3 separate regions of the Homo sapiens genome follow, and all the other regions are linked to region 3. The links are contacts of gene promoters, found by promoter capture Hi-C in blood cells and fetal thymus (Javierre and others, 2016). All regions are on one chromosome and are shown on one strand. The core of a region is centred on a gene start or on the middle of the fragment in contact, and the rest is flanking DNA. Distances in the headings are between cores, read along the strand shown. Region 1 overlaps LOC107985251 (a long non-coding RNA gene). Region 2 overlaps LINC02942 (long intergenic non-protein coding RNA 2942). Region 3 holds the start of CR1 (complement C3b/C4b receptor 1 (Knops blood group)).

What was found. Contacts are between HindIII fragments. The CHiCAGO score rates a contact against its expected background, and 5 or more counts as called.
Region 1: a contact is called between a fragment that was not itself captured here and the fragment with the promoter of CR1 in region 3, in 1 of 17 cell types (M2 macrophages). The highest score is 5.3, in M2 macrophages.
Region 2: a fragment that was not itself captured here is called in contact with the fragment with the promoter of CR1 in region 3 in 1 of 17 cell types (M2 macrophages); the score reaches 6.5 in M2 macrophages.

The regions. Positions count from the first base shown.
Region 1 is chr1:207,315,286-207,319,119 of GRCh38, forward strand. All of the region lies in intron 1 of LOC107985251 (a long non-coding RNA gene), which reads right to left. Among named protein-coding and RNA genes, the nearest start is that of CD55, 4.5 kb to the right of the region's middle. RefSeq lists an enhancer at 1,299-2,128. The HindIII fragment of the contact is 3,192 bases long and covers 1-2,869 here.
Region 2 is chr1:207,248,236-207,251,789 of GRCh38, forward strand. The region is part of intron 2 of LINC02942 (long intergenic non-protein coding RNA 2942); the gene reads left to right. All of the region lies in intron 1 of LOC107985251 (a long non-coding RNA gene), which reads right to left. Among named protein-coding and RNA genes, the nearest start is that of LINC02942, 9.9 kb to the left of the region's middle. The HindIII fragment of the contact is 2,385 bases long and covers 513-2,897 here.
Region 3 is chr1:207,494,238-207,498,124 of GRCh38, forward strand. It overlaps CR1 (complement C3b/C4b receptor 1 (Knops blood group)), which reads left to right and starts at 1,920. Exons shown (of 47, transcript NM_000651.6): 1 at 1,920-2,151. The coding sequence starts at 2,031. The HindIII fragment of the contact is 13,119 bases long and covers 1-3,887 here.

The DNA of each region.
Region 1 (3,834 bases), core at 24-2,523, 180 kb before region 3:
CCCATGATCATTCATTATTGTTAATATTTATAGAGTACTGTGTGCCAAGCAATGGGCCAAATGCTTTACATACATTATTTCCTTTATTCCTCACAAAACCTCTATGAGGTAATATCATTACACCTGTTTTATAAGTGGGAAATTTGTGTTTCAGAGCGGTTGGGTGCTGGACCACACTCTCACATGCACACACACTCTCACATGCTCACATTCATACACGCACATACACTCTCACATGCTCATACACATTCATATACATGCACACACATGCTCACACAGGCTTTCATACACACACTCACATGCTCACACACATTCATACATGCACACACATGCACACTCATTCATACATGCACACACATGCTCAGACTTTCATACACACACACATGCACACACACATTCATACATGCACGCACACTCTCACATGCTCACACACATTCATACATGCACACACTCATGCTCACACATATACATGCACACACTCACATGCTCACATTCATACATGCACACACACTCTCACATGCTCACATTCATACATGCACATACTCTCATGCTCACACACATTCATATATGCACACTCACATGCTCACACACATTCATATATGCACACTCACATGCTCACACACGTTCATACATGCACACACACGCTTACACACTCATACATGCATACACTCTCACATGCAAACATATTCTCACATTCTTGCACACACATACTAAAATGAACAAACTAGCCACAAGATTAAAAATTATGGCTCAGGAGTCATGCAGCTAAAGGCTACAAGATTCCTAACCTTCCCAATTGCTCCTATAAATAATGTTACTATTGCAAAACCTAAATTTGTGTTTGAAGTTCACACATGAACACAGTCTCACATGTGTGCACACACACATTTTCTTGTTCCTGCCCCTACCTCCAAAGTGGAGGTAGCAAAAATTCACTGTTGTCTCAGAAAGTTAGATCTTGGCAAATAAATATTTGCTCACATAAGTCAAGCATTGCATTTCCCCCTGGCTGCTGAGCCTGTTCTCACACACACAGGGAAGTCAGCTGCAGGGCAGGATGCCATTTCATAGGTGAACATGTCACATGGAATTAGACCACTTTTTCCCAGGTCCTGCTGAACCTGCACCTAGTGAAAAAAAAACTACTATGTCTGCTGCAATACACTGATACCTTGATTAGTGAATTCCTGAAGAACTCATGTATAAGAAATGGGAGAGTCCACTCATTTGTTTTCATTTATTAAAAAATACCCTTATTCTGTGAAGCAGAATTACCTGTATTTGCAGCTGCATGACAAAAATGCCTCAATATAAAGCTCCCCCCAACCCCCACCCCCCGCCCATTGGCTATTTTAAGATAAGTTGGCAATAAATTTAGGCTGAGTTAGAATGTAAATATGAAATAGACTGGTTCCTCAGATGTGAGGCATAGATAGGCACATTACATACTTTGGTAGCATAGAGGAAGGTACCAGGTATGATGCAATGGCAAGGGAGATTTTCTGGAGGAATGTTGCCTGGCCAGTCTAACAGAGGTGTTAAGATCCTAAGCACTAGTTCTACTGCCAGCAAGCCATGTGGTTTGGGGCTAGTTTCTTAACTTCCCTAAACACCAGCTGGTTCACTTGCAATGAGGGTGATAATATTTGCTCACAGTTTTGTATTCCTTGGCTTTCAAGAAATTGCACAATCCTCTTTCCTTTCCACTACCTTCTCCTTTCCCTTTCTCTGTCATTTGTACTTTCTAACGTGGGGCTCCTCAAGTCTCACACCTTGGGCTTCTCTATTTCCACATGCTATGCTCCCTTGGTTCAAACCTTGCCTGCAGTCACATCTCTACCCACTCCACCTCAATCTTGCCTCCGTTTCAATCGCATGCTGGACATTTCCACGTAGACACTCTGCCAAGGCATTTGAAATTCAACAAGTGTAAAGCTGAATATGGATAGTTCTTTTAAATAGGGCTGCTAATCTCACAAACTCCAAACTTCCGAGTCCTCTTCAACATCTTTTTCCCCACTGTTCCTTATCTAATCAGTTGCCAAATTCTGTGGCTTATTACTTTGAAACTTGTTTGGTCAGAGCAGGAATGGAAATTCAAAAGTCTATAATAATTGTGTCAGGAGTTTTACAGAGCAACAGGACTGGAACTCCTTAATATAGATTTATTAATTTTAAAACTAAAAGACATTTTTGTTCTCTAAACACCTGGACTGTTGTAATTAGCTAAATTGGATCTTTGCTTACACAGCCATTCCCATTCCAGCATCTTAGATGCAAATTCCAAATTACCCAGGTGCTTCCTCCTTACAAGTGTCAACCGTCCTTTAATGCTTCTGAATGGTGTAAAAGGCACAGGCCTTGCCTTTAAGGCTCTCTCAAATCTCTTTCCAGCCTCTCTTACCCTCTTGTTCCATTGCCATTGCCTCAATTCAGTTCTCCATACTCTCCCTAAACTAAACTCCTTACTATTCCTGGAATCAACAGGACTGACCCCAAACCTTTGTTCGTATCTCATCTCTTTTCCTATTTTTGCCCTATTGCATTGACACTTGTCATATTTAGTTGAATCACTGGGCCTTTAGCCTTCCCCGCTCCAATTACCACACTCCCTTCTTTCCTTTCTGAAGCCCCATACCACTTTGGTTGTGATATTTGTATAGCATTTATCATGGAAAACCTCCCTACTAGATTGTAGATTCTCAAACACAAGTATTGACACTTAGTGGGTTTCTGTATACTAGGGAAGTTTATTAAACAGTCTTTGATTTAGTCATTGTATGGTTCCTGGGATAAGAGTAAGAACCGTGGTCCCTTGCTCTGTCAAAATCATAAACCTATTTTCTTTGTATTTTGACTTAATTACATAAGCTTGTTTTGGATTGGAAGGTCTATAGAGACTATTTTAGTGCCAAATGCTATTTAATCAATGCAGAAATAAGCCCTTGAGAGGTGCAGTGACTCAGCTGAGGACACACTGATAGTTTCTGGTAGATAAGTATGAAGCCTTGGAACTACTTCTCATATCATAAGCCCCTGGGTTCCCAAATCACCTCCCCAAGTACCTAATTCATCATCCTCTGCATACAAGAAATTTTTGCTCATTCCAATAAAAAGAATGTAGTACGGCAGGACAGGAGAAGTACAGGTTTTGGAATCAAACTAGGTTTAGATTCTGACCTGGTCGCTAGTTAGTGCATGGGCTTTGGTAAACAGCCTCTCAGCCTGTTTCCTTGTCTGCAAAATATGGATAGTTATCTTCACTTCATGAAGTTGTGTTGGTGAAATGGTATAATGTGTATAAAGCAACTGGAACACAACAAATGAGGCCATTTATTTAAAATAATCTTTAGTAAGTTATAAATTCACATATTTGCTTTTTTCTGAGGAATGCTTAGATTTTATCATAGATCTCTTTTCTAAATTGAGTAAATACATAGTGGATTTCTTTGTTTCCTTCCCCTCAGAATGTTGAAATTTGGCTGATTGTAACTATTACTTAAGACTCTATCCAGTAATTGTTCGTAAAATTTCTTTTCTTTTTTTTTTTTTGAGACGGAGTTTTGCTCTCGTCCCCCAGGCTGGAGTGCAATGGCGCGATCTTGGCTCACTGCAACCTCCGCCTCCCAGGTTCAAGTGATTCTCCCGCCTCAGCCTCCCAAGTAGCTGGGATTACAGGCACCTGCCACAACGCCCAGCCAATTTTTGTATTTTTAGTAGAGACGGGGTTTCACCATGTTGGCCAGGCTAGTCTGGAACTCCTGACCTCAGGTGATCCTCCTGCCTTGGCCTCCCAAAGTGCTGAGATTACAGGCGTGAGCCACCACGCCCGGC
Region 2 (3,554 bases), core at 455-2,954, 250 kb before region 3:
CCTGGGGGGTGGGGAATGAATGAGGGACCCCACAGGATGCCTTCTTTTGTGATGTGGTCCTACCCTGTGAGTGTATTAGTTGGGAAAAACTAAGTTTATTGTCATGGCAAACAACCCCCAAATCTCAGTGGCTTTAAAAATAAAGCGTTATTGGCCAGGCAGGGTGGCTCAGGCCTGTAATCCCAGCACTTTGGGAGGCCAAGGAGGGCAGATCACGAGGTCAGGAGGTCGAGACCATCCTGGCTAACATGGTGAAACCCCGCCTTTACTAAAAATACAAAAAATTAGCCAGGTGTGGTGGTGGGTGCCTGTAGTCCCAGCTACTGGGGAGGCTGAGGCAGGAGAATGGCATGAACCCCAGAGGCAGAGCTTGCAGTGAGCCAAGATCACACCACTGCACTCCAGCCTGGGTGACAGACCAAGACTCCATCTCAAAAAAATAAATAAATAAATAAATAAATAAAAATAAAATAAAAAAATAAAAATAAATAAATAAATAAATAAATAAATAAAGCTTTATTTCCTGTTAACACTACATGTCTATCTTGGGTTGCTGGGGAGCAGGGTTGGGATCTGCCCTGCGACCCACACAGCCTCTGCTTCGGGGGAAGGAATATGAAAATCCCATGGCTCTTCATAACTTTACATTTTACTGCCAAAAGCAAATCACTTTAACGGAGCTATAAAAGGAAGAGGGAAGAACAACACTATCATGTGCCTGGAAGGAGAAGAATCAGAATCATTGAGGAACCACACTAATGACTAACACACTGCAACTACAGAGATTTCCTGCAAAACTTGCATAATCACATATGCTCATTACTTTTGGATTTCTTGTGATTAGCAATCAAGGACAGTTTCTCAGCTAATCAGTACAGGAAGAAGAGCCTATGGTAACAGACAATAAAGGAACAGGTAAGACATAGATATAGGAACACAGGCAGGGGGAGTCAAAAGGATGTGAGGACAGGGGATGCAGCTGAGAGGGCATGGCCAAGTTGATTTGTAATAGCAACAAACTTAAGACAACCCAAACATTTACCAACAGGGGACTGGTTTAAATACGATGTGCTTACAAACACTGGAATTTACTAATCCACCAAGTGTTCATAGAGAACCTACTCTGTGCCAGACACTGAGCATAGTGCTGTGAACAATAAAAACCCACTAAAATGAAATGTAGTCATGAAAAAATGAGGTAGATTTGCATGCACTGATGTGGAAAGATACCTAAAATGTATAAAATGAAAAATGCTTGTTTCAGAACAGCATGTATCATATGATCCCATTTGTGTAAGAAATTCTTACATATCTAAGTATACTGTTTACATAATCTCATAGTGATGATCTCTGGGGTATGTATTTGAAGAATGGTTAGGAAGGCCAAGAATTTATTTGACACTTTATAATCTTGCATTCTATTTGTAACCTGAGCATATTTATACATATAACATAGATGATATATAATGTAATAATAGTAATTTTAATTTTTATCTTTGGAATAATAGAAAACAGTAGTATAATTTTAATAATTTTTAAAACTAACAATGATATATTTGGCTGCTAAAGAAAGGAAAGACAGGGAGTAGGCAGTAGCTGGAGCAGGACATCAGGTTAAGGGATAAGTTGACTACAATAGACAGGACAGGTGGGATAGGGGAGACTGGGATGGGAGAGTAAGCAGTGTACGTTTTTCCTGATAAAGCCATAGGGGATGAGATTTGGGGCTGAGTTGGGAGAAAATAACCTCAGATTGGATGATGGACATCTCGATTTTATAGGAGGGGGAAAAAGGAAAGAATGGGTATGGGGGCTGTCTGGCTATATAACAGGCATCCTTTATAATGGCTTCTGTTTTCCCACTGAGCTAGAAATAAGAGCACTTCCTCAGAGAGAGGGAAAAAGTAGGAAACTTTGCATTTCAAGAAAGATAGACAAGGGTTGAAAATGTAGTAAATATAAAAACAATCTTACTAAATAAATTTATAATTTTCAGAAAGTCAGAGTTGAGGGCCCTGCTGAAATTGGTAACCACAAATTTATAGTGGTACCAATCTGCTTAATTTTATGGGTATTTTTCTAGAGTTCTGCTAACATGAAACAGCAGATTCCTGATTCATTTAAGGCTGGGATTTTATTAGGTGGATATAATGAAGGGTCATAAGGGGCAAAGAAGTTTAAAATATTGATAAAAGGCTAAAATGGTGCCTCATTGCCCCTCAGTTGGGAAGGGAAGAAAAGAAATGAAAAGAAGAGGGGTTGGTGGATGGTGATTTTCAAGAAAAAGTGTTTGATGGCAGGGGACTGTCAAGAAGGAACAAACTTGAAAGACAAAAGGGTGTGGTCACAGAGTGTGGTATCTGAATATTTTATTCTTCAGCTGGAACAGCCCTGGGTAGTGACAAAGTATAGGATGACCATTGGAGAGGTGCTAAGTGAGCAGGAGGATGTCATTGGAGATGTGGGGCTCAAGGAACTGAAAGGCCAGGCCCTGGCTGGTGTCATGTCCTGGCCACATGTTAGGAAGCCAGGTCAAGGAAGCAGGAATGAAGACCCAGTGATGACAGGGAAGGGAAGGAATATTTGTCAAGGCATAATTCAGGTGTTCCTGAGTCCCCTGGCCATACTGCTATTTATTGCCATCCAAATCCCTGTGTATTATCTAATAATGAGATCTCTGGCCCTCTGGAATCAGAATGCATTGCCTTAACTTCTGTCTCCTGGGATCTAAAATTCCATCACTGGCCTGAATGATCAGTGTTCCAGGTGCCCTAAAGGAGAGGGCTCAGAGAATTTGCTGTATATCTCTCTTTCCTTCGTCATGCCATTTGCTAGGTCTAGTTTATGGCCACTGTCTACTCACTGTCCCTGAAAAATATGGTCCCAAGAGAGGATCAAGCTTACTGCCTCCAGGAGGTAGCAGCCCTTGAGGGCTAATTTGCAGAGGTTCTGCAAGAGACATTTTCTCTCTCACACAGGCTCTGCTTTTCATAACCCTCCCAACCCTCCTTGTTGTCTTCTACCCCCCCAGGACTGGCCCTATTCCAAACTGCAGAATTTGTATGAGAGTAATCTAAAGTAATTGTAACTCTTATTATGCAATTTCTATCATTTATGAGTAATATGAGTTCTTGAGATAATTGGAAAACATGGTATTTCTATTGTCCCACCTTCAATGGAAAGTGGAAGAAATACATGGGCATCTGCAGGAAACCTAACATTCCGCACCCAAACACAGAATGGTTCTGAACACTACTGGGGGTATGTCTAACTTAGACATCTTGGCTAAATCTATCCTTTTTTATCTCTACTAAAGTGGAGAGAATTTTGGTAGCCTGGGATCTGACTGCTTACCCAGAGCTTGTCTAGAGATAATCCAAGCAGTTGGGTACACTTCTAAGATGTTGAACAAGGCCTATGAGTCTCTGGTGACGTGTCTATAACTGACATCCTTCAATTCACCTGTGGCACAGGTACCTAGACCAGGAATGCATGCACCAGCCTTGCTCATGTGTCCCAGGTAAACAAATCATTGTTATAAAGTCACTCTAGGT
Region 3 (3,887 bases), core at 670-3,169:
AGAGGTCAAGGCACTGGAAGGCCAGGGATTTGAAAATACTATTGCTGTGAATGTTGAAATCACCAGGAACTGTGGCAGAAGTAACAGTGGAGAAGGTGGCCATGAGCCAGGAGCTCAAACTTTCAAGGAATGAGGGAGAAAGTAGATACTAGGAGATGGATACCAGCAGAAGTGGTAAGGAGTGGCACCTTCTGATAGCATGTGATGTAAAACTGGGGAAATGAGCCTTCTCCTCTTCTCTTTTCCTAAGCCTACTACAATCTGGCTGCTACTCCCATTACTCTGTTGAGAATAACTTGAAATGATGATAGCAAATCCTTAAAAGAATGTCACTGGATGTACTAAAAACTGTGATAAGTGATATGATCAAAGTAGACATTTCTTCCACTAGAATTTTGGGAGGAAGCCTAATGGAAACCAATGCGCACAGAAAGACAAATGCTGTATGTTATTAGTCATATGTGGACTCTAAAAAACTCATCTCATAGAAGTAGAGGGTAGAATACTGGTTACCAGAGGCTGGGGAAGGGAGAGACAATGGGAGATGGAGAGAGATTGGTTAAAGGGCACAGGATCACAGATAGATAGGAGGAATACATTCATCCTTGAATACTTAACCCTCTGCCCTAAATCTGTCAGTCCTACATCCATACTTCTTATTTCAGTAAGTAGCACCACCATTCATTTCTAATCCTGGGGCTAACTCTTTTTTTTTTTTCTTTTCTGAATCATGTCTCCTTTTAATGGTTAAGGAAAACAAGTTTAACATAAAATTAGCAACAACAACAACAACAACAACAAAATCAAGGTTTAAAGTCAAAATTATTTTAAGAGAAAAACCCAGGCAAAATAGCCTACCTACAGGCAGGCAGTACATGTCAGAAGGACAGGCCACCCCCAATAAAAAAGATAAAATATTATTTTTTCTACCTTTTTTAAACTTAATTATTTAATTATTTCTTTCTTTTTTCTTTTTTTTGTTTCTTTTTTTTATTATACTTTAAGTTTTAGGGTACATGTGCACAACGTGCAGGTTTGTTACATATGCATACATGTGCGACGTTGGTGTGCTGCACCCATTAACTCGTCCTTTACATTAGGTATATCTCCTAATGCTATCCCTCCCCCCTCCCCCCACCCCACAACAGGCCCCGGTGTGTGATGTTCCTCTTCCTGTGTCCATGTGTTCTCATTGTGGAAGCTGGAAACCATCATTCTCAGCAAACTACCGCAAGGGGGCTAACTCTTGATTGCTTTCTTCTCACCACCAACCTTAAGAAAGGAAGTAACCAAAATCCAATACATGAGCAACTGTTCATTCCATCTCCAATATCTTTGTTAATTGTCCACTTTATCCACCCAGTCAGGGCCGCCATCAAACCTCACTTGGATGTCGGCAAAAGCTCCCCTGACTGGTCTTCGCAGTCCATTATTGCCCTATTCTAATCTACCTTCCATACTATACACAGATTTACATTTTTTAAATGTGTATCTAATTGTCCCTCCCTTTTAAAAAATCTTACAATGGCATGACGTCTCAATTCAGGGTAAGGAAATTGTTTCTTCACATTCCCTGTACACCGTACACATCGCCTGCAATTGCCCTTCAACACGGAGAGCAGGCATTTCATTAGCTGACCTTCCCACACACATTCTTGCAAAGAGGAAAAGTTAAGCAGGGTGTTTGGAGGCGAGCTGCCATCATCCACCGCCTTTGTCTGGAAGCGCAGGGCCTCACACGCGGGATCCATCGGAAGCCCGAGCATTGTCAAGCTCTGCTGCTGCACCTGGGTCAGCAAGGTGGGCTCTGCCAGCGAAACTCGTTAGAAACAATGCAAATGGGGAGTAAACATGACCTCGCCCATGAAGGGGAAGCTGTGGTCAAAAGCATTTTGTCCCGGAACCCCGCAGCCCTCCCCACACTCTGGGCGCGGAGCACAATGATTGGTCACTCCTATTTTCGCTGAGCTTTTCCTCTTATTTCAGTTTTCTTCGAGATCAAATCTGGTTTGTAGATGTGCTTGGGGAGAATGGGGGCCTCTTCTCCAAGAAGCCCGGAGCCTGTCGGGCCGCCGGCGCCCGGTCTCCCCTTCTGCTGCGGAGGATCCCTGCTGGCGGTTGTGGTGCTGCTTGCGCTGCCGGTGGCCTGGGGTGAGAGGCGGGCGGGCGTGGGGAGGCGCCCGGGCGGACGAGGAACCCGGGGCCCCGCAGAGAACTCGCGTGCAGCGCTGAGCTGCGCTGCTCTGCGCGCCCGGGTCCGAAGGCAGCGCGATGGGTGGGCTGAGCGCGCGACCCGGCAGGGCGGCGGGTGTAGGATCCTTCTGCGCACTGGAGACCCTCGCTGCTTCTGGGTAAGCGTGGAGTTCCCAGGTGCAGGGGCTTAAGTCGTGACGAGCGCAGTGGAAGGCGCAGATGCTGAGCGGGTGCCGCACGAAATTCCTTGCCTTTGTGTATTCACAGCCTCGGCTGGCTATAGCCAAGACGTGGCGTTGATCCTAGTGAAAGGGAACTTGGGGATCCGACAAACCTGAGTTCTGGTCCTAGAAACTTAACTGTGAGGCAACTTAGCACACCTGAGTCTGTTTGCTCTTCTGTAAAATGGGGACACTGGTATCTCTGCATCGTGGAGTTGCTGCCTCAGTGGCATTAAGCCTGTCGAGTATCTAACACAGGGCTATGTGTCCCCGAGTCCATTTCTATCCCCCAACCGTTACCTCTGTACTTTGCTCCCAATGGTGTTTAGACAAGCAGTCCTAGGGATGCAGGTGTTACCTGACAACTGCCCCGCATGGAACTGTCCTCGCCCCCCACACCAAGCCACCACGGCCATCATCACCATGCACTTAATTGACAGCATACTTTAAGACAGATGCATGCCAGGCACTTGCGGATTAGAAGAGCAAGGGAAGCCCCAGAACATGCAATGTAACCGTTGCAGGTAGAAGGGACAGTAGATATGTTTACAGTTCGCATTTTAGTGATGTGTTTAGTACAAAATAACGCCTATTATAATTATTATGGAAATTTTGAGGCCACATCTCTTCCTTTTTCTTAACTTCAAATAGGTAAACATCTTCAGTTAGAACCCTTCTATTATTATTTTTCGGCTCCCCAGAAGTCTTCTTGGTTGCCTAGACTCACTGGCAACATCTCATTTGAAGTGACAGTCTTGGTTGTTTTTGTCCAGCCTATTCCTGACAACTCCGGGTTCGCCCTTCTCTGCCACTAGACATTTTACATTCATTATTTGAGTGTTCCTTCTTCTCTAAAAGAGTAAATAAAATAAAATAAAGTAGAACCAAGTCCCGCAAGAGTTGTTATTAATATTTGATCTCCTTAGGCACCAGAAAGTAACCTGTCAGGTGCAGAGATGTGATAAAACGTACAATCTTATTTTTAGGAGAGAAGCATGCCCAGTAAGTTAAGCAATCTGTTGTCAACGCTTAGGAATTTGTGTCATCTTTGGGAGTACTGGCCCTCTTCTTACTAGAATGTTGTTTTACTTAGCCTATGTTGATTAAGTTACTGTTATAAACAATCCCAGACACTATTAATTGCAAAAAAAAAATTTACTGAGGTTATCACAATAACTTCCAAATGTGAAACAGCCTAAACTAAACTACCTAGAAATTTTGTTGCTGACATAATTTAAATTTTAAAATGCTGATGGATGCTTCCAGTGTGCACGGTCCTTTGGAATTTTAAAGAAGTATAAGAGCTCTGCACCCAAAGTGTATGCATATAGAAGTAGGTGGTGGAGTTTTATGAAATCTACTTATTAGGAAGCCAGCGTTCTGCTTTTTCCAGCCTCTGCTACTTACCAGCTGGTGTCTTGGACCCAGTAAGTTAAGTCACATCACTGACCTTCAGTGTCCACATGTATAAAA